7 separate regions of the Homo sapiens genome follow, and all the other regions are linked to region 1. The links are contacts of gene promoters, found by promoter capture Hi-C in blood cells and fetal thymus (Javierre and others, 2016). All regions are on one chromosome and are shown on one strand. The core of a region is centred on a gene start or on the middle of the fragment in contact, and the rest is flanking DNA. Distances in the headings are between cores, read along the strand shown. Region 1 holds the start of KCTD9 (potassium channel tetramerization domain containing 9). Region 2 has its middle 5.0 kb from the start of ZDHHC2. Region 3 overlaps CNOT7 (CCR4-NOT transcription complex subunit 7). Region 4 holds the start of TTI2 (TELO2 interacting protein 2). Region 5 has its middle 5.5 kb from the start of PCM1. Region 6 overlaps PCM1 (pericentriolar material 1). Region 7 overlaps ASAH1 (N-acylsphingosine amidohydrolase 1).

Region 1 (2,782 bases), core at 210-2,709:
TTAGAAAAAGTTAATAGTGATGAGAAATGTAAACTTCGTGAACATATTTTCGGGGTAGCATTCATGATAACTCAAGAACTCGAATTTATACGAATTCTGATTTTAAATGAGTATTAAATCTCTAAGACCAAAAGAACATAAAATTATAGCCAACAAACCACACTCTGGTTCGAATTTTCGGAGCATGTTTACTCTACACTGAATAATCGGAAAGCCATTTTTAATGCCACTGGACAATTTCACTATTTAAAAATTTACAGTGTTCCCCGAATGTGCAGGCAGCAGAGTATTTTGGCAACCAACACAGCGAGACCCATTTACCTTTACCTTAGACTCGTAAAGGCTGAGTTACTTCTAGGTATCATTTAGCAACGCAATAAATGTCTGCCTCGAACAGTGAAAATTTCCCAAAGGAGCAGAACAACTTTCATGGGTGGGGCAAAAGGCTGGGAAGGAAGAGAATTCGTTTTGGCTTGCTCCAGCGCTGGAAGAACACTGAGCACCACACTCTCCGCAAAGGCCTAACACAGCAAAGGCGACTGTCAAATCGATCCCTTTTGGGTCTGCTGTACCCGTCCTCTAGGGAATCAAAATAAGGCAAAATAATAAAAAGAGTACAGAGAAGTTTGGCGGCGGCGGGGCGTGGGGGCTTGAGGCATCTCAGAGAGGAGGGCAAAAATCAACAAGAAAATGCCCCCATTTTAAAAATCCTGTCTGCGACCTCGGATGGGAGATTTTGTTTATCCACGGGCAGTTTACTTCTGTCTCCCTGACCCATCTCCACAGGCTCTGGTGCTCGCCGCCACTTTCCGAGCAGATCATTACTCAGCACCGGAGCCGGCGCGCCTCCTCCCGCAGGCGGGAGCGGGGTCTCGGGGAGAGGCGGGAAGAGGCGCGACCGCCCGGGCGCCCAGGTGACCGCGGCCCTCCCCGCGCCCCCGTCCCCGCGCCCCCCGCACCAAGCATCCGGGAGACCCGGAGCCCCCGGGCCGAACCGCGCCGGCCCCCAGGCAGCTGAGGCACTGAAGGGCAGGCTCGGGCACGGGGGTCCTGAGGGTCGGGAGGAGGCCGCGGGGACCCTGTGCTGTCCCCGAGCGCCCCCAGCCCGCGCACGCCCACCTCCCAGCCCCTCTACCCAACTTCACCGCTGCCCCGCCAGCCGGTTCCGCACCGTCCGCCCTCGCCCCGACCCCCGGCCCGCCGCGCCCCCTCACGCCCCCGTTACCTTTCCGTTCTTGGGGCTGCCGTTCAGGAACAGGGTCACCCGCCTCATCGCGCTGCCCCCGCTGGGTCCTGAGTGAGCCGCCACCCTCCCACCTGGTCCTCCTCCCACCTTTTTCTCCTCCCGCCCTTCCCCTCCCTCCACCCACTCGGATTCGCCTCCCTTCGCCACCTTCCTGCCCTTGGGGACACACCACACGCACGCACTCTGTCCCACACCCAAGGTTCGGCCGGTCCTCCTTCCCACCCCGCCCCTAGGCTCCTCAGCCTGCCTGGGGCCCTTCCCCCACCTCTCCGAGACTGACACTCTGCCGTACCAACCAACCCGCGTCACCGGACAGAGTCCAGCCAATCAGCACCCAGTATCGGGCGGGCTCTGGCTAACCTAGCCGGGACGGAGGGAGGGAAGAGACGCTGAAGGCTAGTAGACGGGAAGGGGCATCAGCCAATCAGAGAGGCTCCTGGAGCCGGACGGCGGCTTCCAGCGTTACTGAGCAGGCGCACCCTCTAGTTTAGGTAGCGCTTATCTGCATACGAGGGCGGGGTCTGGGGAAAGGAGGTGGAGCGCTGAAAGGGACCCAAGCACCAGTCAGCCCCTCCTCCAGCGTTAGCCCCGCCCACAAGCCGGCCCAGCTAGGAAACGGCTGCGGTAGGGACGGACTGATTGGGTAAGAGCCAGCTCGTCGCTCTGTTAGGATTGGTTGAATGAGTCTTTTCGAAGTTTGCAGCATCCAATAGAAAGGTGGGAGGCGGAGTTAAAGCGCTAAGAGAAGCGTTACTCCGCGAGACTCTCCTGAAAAGTAGTCCCCGAGGTCACAAGGCAGTGGCAGGTGTCTGTAGTCCTCGGGTTGACTGCAGCTCGCGGTGGTCCCTCTCCGAGCCCAGGAAGCCACTCCAGTGCCGAGGGAGAGGCCTGGGAGCGCTCGGAGTGTGCGCGGACTGGAGAAGGGGGAGGTGGCGGAGTGATTCGTAGAGTAAATTCGGTACCGAGGGGCGGGGTCGGGGATTTGAATCGGTCGGCGGGCGGAGGAGGCGGGTGGAGGAGGCTGCCGGGCAGAGCGCAGGCCAGGATCAGCGCAGGCTGTGAGTCCAGGTCAGCCGTCGGGACCTCGGGCTCCGGGTTCGAAGAGCGGCTCCCGGCTGCGGGTGCTTTGCCAGGAGAGCCCTTCCGGACAGAGGAGCCGGGGTCTGGAAGGAGCGGCCGACGCGACGCTCGCCTGCCACGGGGCTCTGGGAGTAAGCCTGTCTGCCTGGCGGGCCTTCAGGTGCGGCGTGAGAGGTAGGATTGCATCCGCGCTGCCACGGGGCTGTTTCTCCGGGGCATTTCTAGGCACTTTGTTCGGCTTACCCTGCAGCACAGAATTAGTACTCCTGTCAGGAGCTGCTCTGGGTGACCAGGAGTGCATCCGGACCTGTTGAGAGAATTTCTGGAAATGGATAGAGCTGCGTCTTGAGAGGGGTACCCTTATGATTCAGGTTTTCGCTACGGTTGAAAAGCCATGGCTTATCCTTTGGGGTCTGCTTTGGTGCCTGAACAGCAGTTTTCTCCATTTCTTTCTGT
Region 2 (2,782 bases), core at 94-2,593, 8.3 Mb before region 1:
TTTACACATGTAAGCCTTAGGTTGAAGAAATCGATGTATACTGTTCTATGATCCAACTGGCACCTTACTCTTCTTTTCTCCCCCAAATCAATAGGTCTTTTATTGCATCATTTAAATATCACAAATAGGTCTTAGGAATCATCCGGCATCTTGTTTCTGTACCTGGACTACTCTTAGGTCTTATTCAGCAGCCTGCTTAACTGTTCCTTTTTCAGAGACGTAAATACCATCCACACATTTTCTGATATCCTTGTTTTTATTTAATTGTCGTGGCTGGCTGAATCAAAGCAGCTGAATTTGCAACAAGATCAATGTCATTTCCTACAAGGGTTAATTCATCTTTCTGGGCTTGAGATACTGAACAAGCAACACCTGGCCACTGCCAAACCCTGTGGATTTATTTTTCACCGAGGAAATTTCAGAACTCAACCAGAGACCTATTCTTCCGGATAACGACATTGATGGAGAAGTGAGTACACACAGAGCTCATCTTGCAGCGGAAGCCCAGCACAACATCCTTGACCATGTCCTGTGCATGACTACAAATAGTGCAAACGGCAGCCAGTTCCTTTCTGTTTCCCCACCATTTTTTGTCAGTGCCGGAGCCTCATTTTTTTTCTTTCCAAGGAGACTGAGGTCTACATTGATGTGATTGAAGTCCATCCACAGGGTTCCTCTAGGGCCTTTCGCAATTACTGGGTATCCCTTCAAAGTGATATCTACATTTTCTGGAATATGGACAGTCTGGTTGCAGAGAATGGTTTTCATTCTCACAGTAGACACAGCGAAAAGGTGGTTCTTTACTCTTTGGATTCCTCTTCAAAGGAAGAAATTTCCTAGTACCAAAACGTAAAATTGTTTTCAACTTCCTGTTACCTCTAATTTTTGTTTCTATAAAACAGTGAAGGGATTATTACATAGGGGACTTTTTTGTTTCTTACATTTACAAGAATAAAGCCTTTTGAATATTCAGACAAGACAAAATGTCTAAACAGTTCTGTCCAACAGAACTTTCTTCAATGATGGAATGTTCTAGATCTGCAGCATCCAATGCAGTAGCCACTAGCCACATGTGGCTATTGAGCATTTGAAATGTGACTATTGCAACTAAGAATTTCCAATTTCATTTCATGTTAATTTTAACAAATTTGAATAGTGGCAACAAATGTTACTAGTGGGTACTTATTGAACAATGCAGGTCAAGAGAGTGTGATTTGAATGGCACCAAGTAAGCTTCTTCACCCCCAAATTCCTGTATCCCTATTTCTCAAGGTGCCTTGGTCTCCATGAGCTGAAACTAACTCTTTAAGCAATGAGATGCAGAATGAAATTAAAACTACGTGCCATTCAGAGTTCTTGGTTGTAAACACAAGTCAACTCTAGTTGACTTACATAAAAAATGTTATGCAGTTATATAGGCACTCCTCCAAAATCAAAAGGAAGCCTGGAGAATCAAGCTTGAGCTGGAACAAAGGAAGCTGGTGCATGGCCAAGATCTTGCCACCAAGAACAGTCAACCTAGGATGCCATTGCTGCTCTTAATATCCCTGGACACTTGCCACTACACTGCAGAATTCTGCTGCCCTTGGTCACTCTCTGCTGGCTGTTCAGCTCTCAACTCCACAACGGCCACTTCTAATAATCTCCAGTTGAACTTCGGACATTGTATCACCCCTTAGAGATCCATAGTATAGCTGTGTCAGTCCACTGGAAGGACATGTCTGCTCACCTTTTGGGTTCATAGACAGTGCCCCTCCCCATTTAGGGGCAAAGAAGGGAAACAGTGTAAGCAAAAATATTATTTCAATGAAAATTTCCTATTTTATTTCCAAAGAGATTGACCTTAGTGCGAATTCTAAAGAAGTGCACGCAGAATCAGAACGATTTACTATATAGAAAAATGCTTTAAGTCTTTTAAATTTTTTGAATAGGGTTGTCGTTTTTATTAATCGTTAGCCATTAAATTATAATATAAAAACTGTATAATTATAACATAACTTTTTGTTTTGAGAAGGAGTTTTGCTCTTGTTGCCCAGGCTGGAGTGCATTGGCGTGATCTTGGCTCACTGCAGCCTCCACCTCCCAGGTTCAAGCAGTTCTCCTGCCTCAGCCTTCCAAGTAGCTGAGATTACAGGCACCCGCCACCACGCCCAGCTAATTTTTTGTATTTTTAGTAGAGATGGGGTTTCGCCATGTTGGCCAGGCAGCTCTCAAACTCCTGACCTCAGGTGATCTGCCCGCCTTGGCCTCCCAAAGTGCTGGGATTACAGGCGTAAGCCACCGCGCCTGGCCAATTATAACATAATTATAATTAGTTACAATGATATATAATTGTTCATGAAGTTATAATTCATATTTATAATTGCCTTGCTTAAGCTAACAGTTGATAACTATTGAAATCTATGGAGAAAAGGTGAAGACTGCTGCACTGCTTGGTGTGTGCCTGCCATCTAGTGGCAGGACACATTAATGCTACCGTGAAAGCCCTAGTGTGCCTGAAAGGCAGGTTTGCCAGGGACAGTTTGCTCCACTTTACATTGTCCCAGTGTTTCGACCCAATCAACTGTATACAGAGACATCCTTAGGCTTTTGAAATTATCTCCCATTTTATTCAATATAATTACAGCTGAATTGCAAACATAAATCTCTGACAGCCAAAACATATCTAAGCATTACTTCATTCCTACATTCCCTAAGCGCGATTCCTTTTCTTTTATTTTATGTATCTCCAGAAACAAAAAGTGGTTTAGGCATGCTATTCTTCTCCCACAGAGAATGTTTT
Region 3 (2,782 bases), core at 158-2,657, 8.2 Mb before region 1:
CGTCCGTCCCTTGTCTACCTTTCCTTCCAAGGACCTCTAACAGGAAGCCTATATGACATTTGCTCACTAACATTAAAAGATTATATTAGCGCTTAGGATTTATAAACTTCTTAAACTATTCTTCATTACTTGAAATTAGAATATGAGGAAAACAACTAATGATATTTAATGGAATAAAATCTTCTATCTTGATAAATATTCAAATATATCAGTCTAACTTAGATTCTAAACTCCAAGAAGACATGAATGAACCCTGTTTGTTTTTGTTCATCTTAATACCCAGTGCCTAGTGCACTGTATTTTGTCAGAGTATTTTTTAAATGAAAGGGTATGTCATATACAGTAAAAGGGAAGGGCAATACTTTCCAGTTCTTTTGCACCTTCATATCTAGGGAAGAAAAATGACTAAAAAAAAGGTATTTGTATCAAGAGTCTTAAGTTATGTTTCCTAAGGTACAAGTTCAAGTGCAGAAGAGACAAAAAAGATGATAGGTAAGAATGAGTGTGTTCAGTACCTACAACTCAACCATTTCTGGTTAGTACACATCAAAGTTGCCCACATGAACAGTCCTTCACTATAAACATCCCACAGATCAGAGACAGAAACTAAACATGCAGGAGACTCAGATTTAAGATACATGTGTGAAGTGGACCAAGTATGAGAGTATTAACATCTATGTAACACAATGCTTTTTCAAAACCTAACAAAAGCCAATATCATTCTGAAGGTTACTTTTAGTCCCTGGAACGTCAGTTTAGTTTACTTAGATGGGAAAACTCTTTTTCATACCTGGAAGTCTATTTCACAAAATCGGAATAGTTTCCTTACCAGAAACACTCTTAAATAATCTAGTTTCATAACAATAAAGAATTTAGAACCACCACTTATTGAGAATTTACTGTTTATAAAGTATTTTGGTGACCATTAAAACAAGTCTTCAAGCTATTTCTTCTAAGGGATGCCTTATCACTTTAAAAAAAAATTAAAATCCATCTCCACACCCATCCCTAGCATTTTCTTTGCTGTTTTGAGATAGTACTTATCACTATCTAACAAATCACAACGTGAACTCCATTTTTAAAAACTGTCTGCCCACCCCCATGAGAATATAAACTCCATGAGGAAAATAATTTTCATCTGTTTTATTCACACCTTAGTTCCTAGAATCTCATCTCAGTGCCTGCCATATGGTAAATACTCAATAACGTTGTGTAAATGTAAGTGAATGGTTTCCCCCGTAGAACATTAAAAACTAAGGTGTAGAAATAGTAAAAGAAAACCCTGGGTAACACCAATTCCAAATGGCGCCGCTGGATTTAAACCAGGGTCTTTCACTTTTTAGAGAACCTGTACTGTTTCCACTATGCAACATGCTTCTCACAGGCAAAAATGGATCCCATATTTTAAATTAACCTTTAAGCAGACCAACATTAGCCTCCTAAGAGTTAGGAGACAACTCTATATGGCAGTCAACTCTTTCCAGAATTAAACCTGAAATTGCTAACATAGTGACCCAAGTAAGTGTGGAGCAAGTATGAGATGGAAAAACAAATGCCATTTTCAATGTAGTCGTTTTACCTATGAAATGACAACCATTTGACCCCTTCACAGAGGACCACTCCAGAAGTCATAAGAAGTTCTGCAAAGTACTGGGTTTCAATTCCTTCCTCCTCATGTTTTTTAAACTGGATACCAGATGTTGTTAGTAGCTCTATAGAGTCCTGGGCATACATGTCCTCCCTGGCAGAAGAAAGAGAAAGACAACATTCAAACATGCCATTACTTCAAACAAGCTGTTCTTCTGCTTACATCTATAACTACAGTGCCAGAAAAGAGACAGAGGAATGGCTTGAGTCCACCTGTTTCAATGCTTTATATATATGCAAGAAAAATGCAATTTAAATACAAAGGTCATTATTTCAGAAAAGTGTTTCGAATAAAAAATCATTCAGAGAGTCCAAAGGTGCAATTTTAATCTTTTTTCTATTAACTCTATTAGCCTTTCATACTTAAATACATTTAACTGGGTTTGGAAAAGGGTCTCCTATTCACCAGGGGCTACCGTCGCAAAGTGACAGACAAGTTTTTTCAGAGACTCTCAGTCTCAGCAGCCACTGTAATGCTCCCAGATGGAGCTGCAGCCATAGCTGTGGGGCATATGCCCATCTCCCGTGCTCTCAGCAGCACCAGTAAGGAGACCCAGTGGAAAATGTCTCATGCGGATGAGTTAAACTACACTTCATCTTAAAGAAGGAGATGCCTCCTTTCACAAATGAGCCTTGCAAATGCCTCCAATAAGCAACACTGTATAAAGGACTGTACTGTAATAGCAATAATTTCTTCTGCCAACAATCCTATTCCTAAAAGACTGCCTTATAAAATCAAGCCAGGAAATCTAAATATAAACCAATTCTTCAAGATTTCACTTAAGCCAAAAAGAAAGCCATCTCCAACCTCAAATATATTTCCAACCACAAATATGTGTATCTGAAATATTAAAAGTTTCCAAAATATATCTGTATCTGAAATATTAAAACAAAAAAGTTACCAAAATACAGATACATTTTTGAGAATACGTGAAAAAGTGTTTTTTTATTTACTTTTTAAATTGTAAGAATACTGGTTTCTACCTCTTGGCAAAAGGAATTCCTATTAAACACTTGACAAATCTAAACCATGGGGTTCACTTCACTTGGGCCAAAAAGTATCGTTATGGTTAGTCCTTTAGAAATCAATTTATTTCTAAATGTCTGAAAAATTACAAAACAATGGAAATATTTT
Region 4 (2,782 bases), core at 197-2,696, 8.1 Mb after region 1:
ACCAGCCTGGCCAACATGGTGAAACCCCGTCTCTACTAAAAATACAAAAAATCAGCCAGGCGTGGTGACGGGCAACTGTAATCCCAGCTACTCCGAAGGCTGACACAGGAGAATCGCTTGAACCCAGGAGGCGGAGGTTGCAGTGAGCTGAGATCGCAACATTGCACTCCACCCTGGGCAACAAGAGTGAAACTCTGTCTCGAAAATAAATAAATAATAAAAAATAAAAATAAAAAACTGTGAGGCTCAAGTCGGTGGCAAAGGGCAGGAGTACTCACTTATACAAGTCGGGTTTGAGAAGCCCTAGTATCACCGAAAGTCTCCCTTTCTCATCTTCATTTTCTCCATGTAGGAATCCTGCCACAGAACCGCATTCAGTAACTTGAAGCAGTGAGGTGAGCACCTCCCTAGCAACTTCCCGAGATCTCGGAGTGGTCCATGGTTGCTCCAAGCTGTGTGTGATGGCAAAAATATAAACGGGTCCTGCCAAGTGATGCAGGCCCGTCTGCCATGCAGGGCCGACCAGGGAATTCTTAGCAGTCTCAACTTTCCCTAACAGTTTAAGAAACAGTAACCCAACTTGGGCTGCTTTCTCGGCCGCTTCGGAGTGCCCATCACCTCCACCTTCCTCCTCCTTGGAGGGGGCTGCATACTTCTCCAGGGCTTTTGCTACCTGCCCCAGTGTCTCCGGCATTCCGCGGAGCCGTGCACCAGTCCCCTCAAATAACCTATCAAATTCTGTGGCTTCTATTAGATCACCGAGGTCTTTAAGAACTGCATCTTTTACATTGCCTCGTCGTGCCTCCGGGCGGGCAAGACAGTGTAAAATCTTGGAGAAGGCCTGTCCAAAGGCGGAGTGAGACAACTCCTCGGACAAATTAGAGTCTTCCTGCGATGGGGCTTCCAGAGCGCTGTCAAGCTCCATTCCTGACTGCAGCACCAGAAGGCTGGTCTCTCCCACAGAACGAGGATGGAGGCGGGGAGGGATCCGTTGAAGAGGGAAGGAGCGATCACCCAAAGAGAACTAAAATCAAATAAAATAAAACAGAGAGATGTCTTGGAGGAGGGGGCGAGTCTGACCGGGATAAGAATAAAGAGAAAGGGTGAACCCGGGAGGCGGAGTTTGCAGTGAGCCGAGATCGCGCCACTGCACTCCAGCCTGGGCGACAGAGTGAGACTCCGTCTCAGTAAAAAAAAAAAAAAAAAAAAGAATAAAGAGGAAAGGACGCAAGAAAGGGAAAGGGGACTCTCAGGGAGTAAAAGAGTCTTACACTTTTAACAGTGACGTTAAAAGACTACTGTTGCCTTTCTGAAGACTAAAAAGAAAAAAAACTTAAAAATTTAAAGAAATAAACTTCTGAGCCATGTCACCAACTTAACCACCCCCAGGTACCTGCAACGGCTCGCGCCCGCCGGTGTCTAACAGGATCCGGACCTAGCTCATATTGCTGCCGCAAAACGCAAGGCTAGCTTCCGCCAGTACTGCCGCAACACCTTCTTATTTCACGACGTATGGTCGTAAAGCAATAAAGATCCAGGCTCGGGAAAATGACGGAGAGGTGGAACTATAGAGAATAAATTTGCATATATAATAATCCGCTCGCTAATTGTGTTTCTGTTTTCCTTTGCTAAGGTAGAAACAAAAGAATAATCACAGAATCTCAGTGGGACTTTGAAAATATCCAGGATTTTATACGTGAAGAATGGATGTATCGCATTACGGTAGTCACCCTATGTGTAAATTAGTGGCACATACTTGGCACTCCTTAATGTCAACTATAAGATGATCCTTTTGTAGTTCATGAGCGTGATGATTGGGTGTTCATACGCTTGTGTGAGATGTGCCACCCTTGAACCTTGTTACGACGTGGGCACATTACCCGTCTGACCTGAACTTCAAGGATCGATTTAACACTTGTATTTGTGGGCTTGTTACTTATGATAACAGGTGGCCTAGTTTCATGGCTTTGTGTTTACCGTTTTCGGGTGCCCTTTTTTCTGGCTGTATGCTACACGCACGGGTGCTTTTCCGTTGTCCAACTGTGTAATGTGTTTTTGTGTTTGTTCTTTTGTGAGTCGGAGTCTCGCGTTGTCGCCAGGCTGGAGTTGCAGTGTTGCGATCTCGGCTCACTGCAACCCCCACCTCCGGTTTTCGAGAGATTGTCCTACCTCAGCCTCCCGAGTAGCTGGGACTATAGGCGCGCGCCACCACGCCCAGCTAATTTTTGTATAAATATTGGCAAGGATGGTCTCGATCTCTTGACCTCGTGATGCGCCCGCCTCGGCCTCCCAAAGGGCTGGGATTACAGGCGTGAGCCACCGCGCCTGGCCAATGCAGAGCTTTTTAATGGCTTTAATTTTTTAGGTTTGGGAGATACCTGCGCAGGTTTGTTACCTGGATATGTTGTGGGATGCTGGGATTTGGAGTGCAGCTTAGCCCGTTTTCATTGCCCCCTCTAGTAGACCACAGTGTCTGTTGTTGCCACTTTTATGTCCACGTGTTCCTAATGTTTAGCTCCCACTTATGAATGAGAGCATGCGGTATTTGGTTTTCTGTTCAATGCAATACTTTAGCTGGTTTCTGGAGCTAGCGTTTTAAAGCCTGTAGCCACAAGCGTTTGAAAATTCAAATTCTAGCGTCAAGGTAGAAGCCCCCAGCTGGCGTCTGGGGCAGCCCTGAGGGAGGTGGGTCGTCGGGTTGGCGGATCCGGCTTGGGCCCGCCCCGCCAGTGTCGGCGCCGGGTGCGCAGGGACAGCAGAGCGCTGTCTTGGGCATGGGTCG
Region 5 (2,782 bases), core at 204-2,703, 7.5 Mb before region 1:
AACAGGATGTGAAAGCAGATAGCCCGTCAGACCACAGGCCTGTGCATCAAAGGAGTGGTCCACTCCAAGCACCATCAGCAGAGCAGCAGAGCTCTCCGCCTCTGGGAACGAGCGAGAGATAGAAGACTTCCTCCTCATCTCTACCGCAGAGGACTTCTCCTCTTTTACAAGCAGCCTCCTGCTGTTCCCTTCTGGGGAATGGAGCAGGGGTCGCTTCCCTTCCCACGAGACCTTTGTTCAGGGACTCAAGTGGGAGGTTGAGCAATAAGCAAGCTTTCTTGCTTAGAGGCTCCGCACACTTCCTGCGGTTGTTTGTTCCACTCTGTGGTCAGTCAAGCAAGCTCACCGCCTGATTCTTATATTGTTGGACTAAGCACAAGCTATTCTTATGATTCATGACTATATTAATAAAGCACTATTCTAAAGCATATATTGTTAATCCTTAAACAGGCACACTGTACGCTGGCCCTCGACTACCTCGGCCCACATCCAAGCCCCTGTTTTGACCCACAAACCTCTCCTCTATACCAGTGTGTTTCACCCGCTATCAGAGTTTTACTTGTTTCCTTATCTAGATTGGGGAGAGTCTTGGATAGACCGGCCTGCCATCCAACGTCCTTGGTTTTTAGCCCTGGAAATTATTTAGTTCTTCTGGTAAGGAGAGGGCATTTTCTCTTACCTGGTTAATCTGAATTCACGTGTGTTTTGCTAGTTCTCCCCTGACTTTGGGATCTTTCTCATGGAAGGAGAAATGCAATGTGGAAGCCTTTTTACGGTAAAATAAAAAATTATAAGGCCAAGGTGGGTGGATCACAAGGTCAGGAGATCGAGACCACCCTGGCTAACACGTTGAAACTCCATCTCTGCTAAAAATACAAAAAATTAGCCAAGCGTGGTGGCGGGTGCCTGTAGTCCCAGCTACTTGGGAGGCTGAGGCAGGAGAATGGCTTGAACCCGGGAGGCGCAGGTTGTAGTGAGCTGAAATCGTGCCACTGCACTCCAGCGTGGGCGACAGAGCGAGACTCTGTCTCAAAAAAAAAAAAAATTATAATATATACAGCTGTAGCTTTCCTACATAATGCCGTGAATTTAACATGAATCATTGTAACCCCAATCATGCCACATACTCCTCTGCTAGTCCGTATGGATGCATATTACAAATCTAGTTGTCACCTGCAGATCTCTTTATTTCTGTGAATAAAAACTTATTTGACCCAGAAACCAACTTTTATAAAATCACTCCAGATTATTCCTTATAACCATGATAATTTTGAGTCCTTATTTCATATCATTTTGTTTTGATTAACAGCTTTTTTAAAGTGAAAGCTGAGGTTTAATTTTCATGCCTTTCTAACATTTTTCCTATGAATTAGGAAACAAAATCTGTATCAGCCCATATTTCCATATTTTTGGAACTCCCTCACCTAATTATCCAATTTTTCTACTTAATTACCAACATATATCTAGTTACATAGTTCTGGTTTAACTGTTTTGGTATAGTGCTGGTGGGAAACAAGGAAAAAGATGTGGATTATTTTCCTTGTAGTTTTAAAAAATGGTTACTCATATCTCTCCGTTTAAACCTCTCCAACTTGGTGTGTCTTGGGAAGGAAGCAATTTACTCAAGATTTTACTACATGATTGCAGCTTTGACCACATTTTCAGTGAATAGAGAAGATGACGTAAAAACATACATACAAGAAAAATACAGGAAGAATCATGTAGTAATCACAACTCTGTAGAAGTAAAGCCATGTGAAAACTGATGAAATGCAACTATAGATGAAATTGTCAGAATCACGAAGGTTACATCCATTAAATGAGTGATTTTTGAAAGAAAAGAACATAAATTGGTTATGAAGGAAGAGGCAGTTCAGACCGTTACAAACGTTAATATTGTATGTCGACGGCAGTAATTAGGTATTTTCAAATCTAATAATAAAGAATCAAAACTAGGCAGTAATGAGAGATGTTCTGATAATTAGATCTGGGGAAAACAGAGCAAAGTAAAAAGAGCCTTGAAACATTACTTACGCATGTGGATTTGATAGAATTCGTTGACATAATTATATAATGGCTGGTTGATTAGATTATATACATCAACTTTTAAGTTTTTGAGCAAAAGAGTTATGGGAGAAAAATCTCCCTCCCCAAACTCCCGAGGATGCTTGGCAATCAATGTCAGGAGACATTTTTGGTTTTTACAATGGACAGGGGTTTGCTCTAGGTATACAGTGGGTAGAGGCCAGGGATGTTGCGGAACCTCCCGGAACGCACAGAACCGCCCCACAACAAGAATCACCCAGCCCAAACTGTCAATAGTATCAAGGTTAAGAAACTCTGGGCTAGATTAAAAGGTAGAGAAGTTAACCGTGCTACAATTTAACCAAAAGGTGTAAGAACTAGGTCAGAGGCCTCCAATTAGTCCTTTGTTTGGCATGACCAGTCTCTTCTTCCATTAAGTTACCCAGAAAGCCAAGTTATATTTTTCAGGAATATTCAAAAATTAATTTTACGTTCTGCTCTTAATAAATTTGGGGTTTATACCCATTAAAATGGATGAGTCGCAGAAACACAATGTTGAATGAAAAAAGCAAGTAAAGCAAAAATACATTCAGTATGATATCATTTATATAAAGCTTGAAAACAAGCAAAATAAAACATATTATTTAGGGATATCCATAGTTACATGAATAAAATGAAGGAATTCAATAACATTGAATTCCGGATAGTATTTATGTCTGCAAAGAGGAAAGAGTTTGAAGAAAATGTGGCAGGGAGCA
Region 6 (2,782 bases), core at 187-2,686, 7.5 Mb before region 1:
ATTTCTTTTCTCTACATTATTTTCAACAGGAGATACTTAGAGAGCCTGATCCAAACAGTTGTTGAAGAATGGATTTTACTGTGGGGAAATTCTTTTTCTATTTACAGTGGTGCGAGGCATAATTTCTTCCTTAGGTTCCAGCAGAAATGGAAGGGTTAGGACGATGTGGGTAAAGGAATTCTGTTGGGGAGGAGTGGGAACTTGTATAGATTTATTGTAATTTATATAAAGTATTCATTGTGATGGCAATTTCTTTCATAATATAAAATGACGGTATGAAAGTTGACTAATAACATGTAGCAGAGTAAATGTTAAAAATGTGCTTTAACAACTGTGTGGTATGGTAATTCCGCAGGATGTGGTACTTGCTTAGTTACAGTAAGCAACAGTCTAGTCTACAGAAAACTTAAAAGACTAAATATACTGCTGCTTGGAGGGGGATGTGGATTGATTTTTGTTTTTTTTTTTTTTTAAAAAAAAGGTGGACTGGTACTTTTTAAATTGTTTTACAAGGCTGGCTTATATGTTAAACAGGAGTTTGTGTTAAGAATTTAATATGCTACACTATTTAATAAAGGAGGAGGCATCTTTTAGTCTGAGAATTCGGCCGTGCATTGAGGACAAACTAGGGAATTCAGCTTCACAAGAACAGGTTTCAGACATTGACGTTACTACAAGTCCAAAAGGGAAAGGTGACAGACCTCAGAATGACAGGGAACTGAGGCCTAATAGGAAATATAGCCAAAAACGTGGATTTCCCTCAAAGGTATACTTTACAATATTAACTTGGGAAGTCTCTAAATGAGCACTTCTTCTGTTCATATTTCCTCTTCTTTATTTGCTTTTCTGTTGTTGCTATTACTCTTACATATTAATTGTTAATATAGTTGTCATACTGTAATTTGCTTTAGTAAAATTCTGTCCCTTACTGTTTTTTTTCTACTTTGTTATATACCTCTCCATGGATTATAGCTTACAGCTGTTTTTAATTTATATTAACAAAGGTTTTGAAATGTAATTTATTCCCTTTTTTATAAATTGCGAGTATAATTTATAACACGTTCTTAAACCTTGACCATCAGTCAGTTGCCCTTTGTTTCTGATATTTGTGTTTATTAATTTAGATGGGGCCAGGCGTGGTAATTCTAGCACTTTGGAAGACTGAGGTGGGCGGATCACCTGAGGTCAGGGGTTTGGGACCATCCTGGCCAACATGGCGAAACCCTGTCTCTACTAAAAATACAAAAATTAGCTGGGCACGGTGGCGCACGCCTGTAATCCCAGCTACTCAGGAGGCTGAGGCAGGAGAATCGCTTCAACCTAGGAGGTGTAGGTTGCCGTGAGCCACTGCACTCCAGCATGGGTGACAGAGTGAGACTGCGTCTCAAAAAAAAAATAATGAAATAAAAATAAATAAATTTAGATGGTAGTTTGTCAGATTTTTTGGTTTATATTTTTATTTTTGGAAACCCCTTTCATTTGCTTTTTTTAGAAAAATTATCCAGTTGACTTGGTTGCCTCTTTTTTTGCTGGTTTTTTCTGCAGTGTTTAATTGGTTTTTTAATTTTCCATGATTTGCATAATGGCATTCCAGATAGAGTTAAAGACAACTATTTGTAGTTCCACATAAAAAGAGTTTGAATAGGCCGGGCACGGTGGCTCACGCCTGTAATCCCAGCACTTTGGGAGGCCGAGGCAGGCGGATCACGAGGTCAGGAGATCGAGACCAGTCTGGCCAACATAGTGAAACCCTGTCTTTACTAAAAATACACGAAAAATTAGCCAGGTGTGGTAGTATGCACCTGTAATCTCAGCTACTCAGGAGGCTGAGGCAGGAGAATTGCTTGAACCCTGGAGGCGGAGGTTGCAGCGAGCCGAGATCCTGCCACTGTACTCCAGCTTGGGTGACAGAACGAGACTCTGTCTCAAAAAAAAAAAAAAAAGAGTTTGAATAAAAATACCATTTATAAAAGTGCATGTATCTGTTGGCAGGAGCAAAGTACTATTTTAGTAATTGAGTATAGGTAAGACTAATTTCATATGTTTTATTACTGGTTTATTACCTAGGACTACACTTTCCCATTTTGTGGCTATTTTATGGGTTTGTTGTATTTTTTTTTTTTTTTTGGTGTGTGTGGCTATTTACAAATGGTAAAACTTCACCTCTAGTATTTTGGCAGTTTTTTTATTTTTTCTGGTTCCTACAAGAATTTGAGAGCACAGTTTGAAATTAGTTATGGGAATCTTATTATATCAAATATCAAGTAAAATGTGCCCCAGTTCACCAGTAGAGTGAATAAAGTAGCTGATTATTTTAAAAACTAGTGGCATTGGAGAAGAGCAAATAAACATGAAGCATAATAGGTAACCATTGGAATTTTATTCTCTTTAATCCTTCTGAATAGTGACAAGCGAAATTTAAGAGTTAACAGTTAATGCAGTATCTGCCAGTTCTTTTTTTCTTAAGGCATTACATATAATTTAAAAACCACTTTGCTGTTTTTAGGTTTCTTTGAATAATATCCTTATAAGTGATTATTATTCTTTTTTGAATTCTCTTCTTGGCATTTATTTCATTTTGACTTTCTTGATTCTTAAGGCTGTCTCGTTGTTCTGTTAGTATTCTATTTGTAAAAACATTTTAATTTCTTCAGGGGAAAAAATCTTAATTCTCACCACCTGTGTTTATTTTTTTCTCTACTCTGCAGGAACTGTCATTCTTACCACCCCACCCCTGTTTCCTCCTTAGAATCTTTTCAAAATGTAGTATTCTGTTAGAATA
Region 7 (2,782 bases), core at 204-2,703, 7.4 Mb before region 1:
ACTCCGCCTTTTTCTACTCACAAATATTTTTACTACTGTCAATTTTTATAGATCTTAGCAGATTCCATTCCAGGTTATACTCAATCATTATTTTCTCAGCTTCTTCGAAAACATCCTCGCCTGTAGTTGTTTTATACAGATGATTCAGAGGCTAACTCTTCAGTCACTTCAAACTTGGCAATGATCATCTAATAAATATCAACAACTGATCAGTTATCGGTATGTTGACAGTCAAGAAAAATCACTCAAAAATCACATGCTTTGTTCTTTAATTGATATTGATGTTCTTCCCAAAGTCCAGGACAAGGGTTCTCAATGACATGTAAAATAATTTCATTTTCCCTGGACACAATACTTCTGCTACTACAATCGAATACAATTTAGGTAATCCACCATTGGTAAATGGCTTTCCTTATTTTGCTAATAAATGAGCTACTTAGAGACTTATAGGGGTTGCAACTTAATTTTACTTTGTAAAATTTGTAAATAAGTTCTGCTGTGAGGAGATACTCCGCTTTACATTTTCTTGTTTATCTGACCATTGTTTTCCTATGAGTTGGGAATACTGTGATGGGTACTTAACCCAAGTGCTTAATTTTATGATCATGTTGTGGACTTAAGACCCTGCTCCATTAGTGACTTGTAGAAAGTTACACAGCTGGTGACAGAATCAGAGTCAATGGCTTTCCCTGTTCTATCAAACAGCTTCCCACAGAGATAATAAAACCAATGCCTCAATTTAATTCCTAACAGAATAATCTGCGCGTAGTTCAGGGCTTCTGGTGATCACTAGAATCAACTCGGCAAATTAAGTGAAACGTAATGACTCCTATCCCTTCCTAATAATGACATTTGCACGCCCTGGGTTCCAAAGCCAAAATAAACATCAAATTACAGGCACATTTCTTACTAGACAACTGTGAGCAAAGTTGAAAATGCTCTGTCTAGTATTAGGAGAGAATGTGACCTGCCCCAGAGGTAAGAACTAAAGAGCAAGCTAGCAACAATACATGTGGAGTGAGTCTGAGGTTGATAACGACTCTTGGTAGCAATAAACAAACGTGAAATTGGCATAGAACCTGGCTGCAAGGAAATAGGATAAGTGTGACAGAAAATAAGAAAGTTGGCAGCTATGAGACTACAGTATTTCAGGGGCTCACATGGCATGAACGCCTAAGTCGTTTATGCAAAAAGGTTAGTTTTAGGGGTAGGGTGGAAAAAAGAGCTACTTCCTCCCCCTCAAAAAAGAATTCTACAGGGAGACACAGCTTCAAAACCCACGAGTAGCCCTAAAACAGAATTATAATGAACTTACTTAATGTTATTTAAAGTTCCTTACTATCCCCAAGTTTATAAACAGTTTAATAACAGACAACTCTATTAAGGCAGGTAAAAACTTAAATAGATGATAGGTAAAGATTAGAAACAGATGATAAGAAGAGAGATTATGTGGTCTGGATGGTATACTATGTACACCCTATCACAGGAAACAAAATCCAACTTAGAATCAATTCTCTCTAACCCTCTCCCCACAGTACCTCTCTTTCTCTCTCTCTCCCTGCCCTTCCCTACCTTTCTCCCTGCCCCTCAGTGGTCTCCTAAGAGTGAAGATAAGTGGTAAAAATCTGATATTTCAATGCATTTGAAACTCTCTGGGCCAGGCATGGTGGCTCATGCCTGTAATTCCAGCACCTTGGGAGGCTGAGGTGGGTGGATCACCTGAGGTCAGGACTTCAAGACCAGCCTGGCCAACATGGCGAAATCCCCGTTACTACTAACAATGCAAAAATTAGCTGGGTGGCATGTGCCTGTAATCCTAGGTACTCGGAAGGCTGAGGTAGGAGAATTGCCTGAAGCCGGGAGGTGGAAGTTGCAGTGAGACGAGATAGTGTGACTGCACTCCAGCCTGGGAGACAGAGCAAGACTCCATCTCAGAAAAAAAAAAAAAACAAAAAACTCTCTGGAAAGTGCTTTTAAAAGACTGTTTGGGTCAGAAAATTCTCTAATTTTTCTGGTTATTTGATAGAAACTTAAGCCTCTTTGAATGTCCTCCCCATTCATTAAGAGAAATTAATTACAGAGCTACTGAACACAACATTCTAAAAAAAACACAAAAATATAAAGAGAACATTAAGGTCTCAATGAAAGCGCCATACCCTTAAAAAATGGCATAACTTGTACAGCTCCTTAAAATATTTGAGCCCGAAAGAATTAGGAGACCCTCAATGAAATAATGTATGCTTCTAATAGTGAATTTTAAAAGTCCAGAAAGCCCTTGTGTGCTTGTCTTATTGAAATACTCAGAAAGAGACAATGAAGGATAATCTAAAATTACATACCTCATGTCAGTTTTCATACCCACCAGAAGCCAAACAACTCTAGCCAGACAATTTTTCATTCATTCAATTCTTGAATTCATCAACAACTATTTTGCAGACAAGTTTTTCCTATAATGTCCTCTTATGTACAACTCAGCAGAAACACTGAATACAAAGAGGCATGTTTCCTACGTGTACAAGAATTCACATGAGCTTGAAAATGTTTTCACTTGTCTTCTGGGCTTTGATGGGATGGCATCCTATTAAGCTACTGATATTTAGGTCAAAGGAATGTGAATAAACCCTCCATGAGAGGAAGGACCTCATCTATCTCATTGGCTGACGCATTCCCAGCGTTTAGGAGTCTGGCACATAGTAGGCAAGCAGTATTTGTTGAATAAGTGAATGGATTACACCTGTGTGTTCCCTCTTTGGGAGAAGTAGGGAAAAGCAGATGAAGTGCA

The links. Contacts are between HindIII fragments. The CHiCAGO score rates a contact against its expected background, and 5 or more counts as called.
Region 2: a contact is called between a fragment that was not itself captured here and the fragment with the promoter of KCTD9 in region 1, in 1 of 17 cell types (non-activated CD4 T cells). The highest score is 5.4, in non-activated CD4 T cells.
Region 3: a fragment that was not itself captured here is called in contact with the fragment with the promoter of KCTD9 in region 1 in 2 of 17 cell types (activated CD4 T cells and total CD4 T cells); the score reaches 8.9 in activated CD4 T cells.
Region 4: a contact is called between the fragment with the promoter of TTI2 here and the fragment with the promoter of KCTD9 in region 1, in 3 of 17 cell types (naive CD8 T cells, fetal thymus and neutrophils). The highest score is 8.5, in naive CD8 T cells.
Region 5: a contact is called between a fragment that was not itself captured here and the fragment with the promoter of KCTD9 in region 1, in 2 of 17 cell types (fetal thymus and total CD4 T cells). The highest score is 5.4, in fetal thymus.
Region 6: a contact is called between a fragment that was not itself captured here and the fragment with the promoter of KCTD9 in region 1, in 1 of 17 cell types (total CD4 T cells). The highest score is 8.8, in total CD4 T cells.
Region 7: a fragment that was not itself captured here is called in contact with the fragment with the promoter of KCTD9 in region 1 in 1 of 17 cell types (activated CD4 T cells); the score reaches 8.7 in activated CD4 T cells.

Annotation. Positions count from the first base shown.
Region 1 is chr8:25,456,974-25,459,755 of GRCh38, forward strand. KCTD9 (potassium channel tetramerization domain containing 9) reads right to left here and starts at 1,460. Exons shown (of 12, transcript NM_017634.4): 1 at 1,226-1,460. The coding sequence starts at 1,273. CDCA2 (cell division cycle associated 2) reads left to right here and starts at 2,260. Exons shown (of 15, transcript NM_152562.4): 1 at 2,260-2,500. RefSeq lists enhancers at 509-558, 1,929-2,158 and silencers at 1,169-1,218, 1,579-1,788. The HindIII fragment of the contact is 4,823 bases long and covers 1-2,782 here.
Region 2 is chr8:17,150,121-17,152,902 of GRCh38, forward strand. It overlaps the pseudogene RPL9P20. Among named protein-coding and RNA genes, the nearest start is that of ZDHHC2, 5.0 kb to the right of the region's middle. The HindIII fragment of the contact is 224 bases long and covers 1,232-1,455 here.
Region 3 is chr8:17,235,633-17,238,414 of GRCh38, forward strand. CNOT7 (CCR4-NOT transcription complex subunit 7) reads right to left here. Exons shown (of 7, transcript NM_013354.7): 4 at 1,580-1,741. Among named protein-coding and RNA genes, the nearest start is that of CNOT7, 9.8 kb to the right of the region's middle. The HindIII fragment of the contact is 6,429 bases long and covers 1-2,782 here.
Region 4 is chr8:33,511,689-33,514,470 of GRCh38, forward strand. TTI2 (TELO2 interacting protein 2) reads right to left here and starts at 1,447. Exons shown (of 8, transcript NM_001102401.4): 1 at 1,394-1,447; 2 at 279-1,024. The coding sequence starts at 925. It overlaps SNORD13 (small nucleolar RNA, C/D box 13), which reads left to right and starts at 1,787; the gene lies at 1,787-1,890. RefSeq lists an enhancer at 1,479-1,618 and a silencer at 2,049-2,098. The HindIII fragment of the contact is 19,476 bases long and covers 1-2,782 here.
Region 5 is chr8:17,916,113-17,918,894 of GRCh38, forward strand. No RefSeq gene overlaps it. Among named protein-coding and RNA genes, the nearest start is that of PCM1, 5.5 kb to the right of the region's middle. The HindIII fragment of the contact is 2,365 bases long and covers 272-2,636 here.
Region 6 is chr8:17,941,070-17,943,851 of GRCh38, forward strand. The region is part of intron 6 of PCM1 (pericentriolar material 1); the gene reads left to right. Among named protein-coding and RNA genes, the nearest start is that of PCM1, 19 kb to the left of the region's middle. The HindIII fragment of the contact is 3,210 bases long and covers 1-2,782 here.
Region 7 is chr8:18,077,340-18,080,121 of GRCh38, forward strand. The region is part of intron 1 of ASAH1 (N-acylsphingosine amidohydrolase 1); the gene reads right to left. Among named protein-coding and RNA genes, the nearest start is that of ASAH1, 5.4 kb to the right of the region's middle. The HindIII fragment of the contact is 4,673 bases long and covers 1-2,782 here.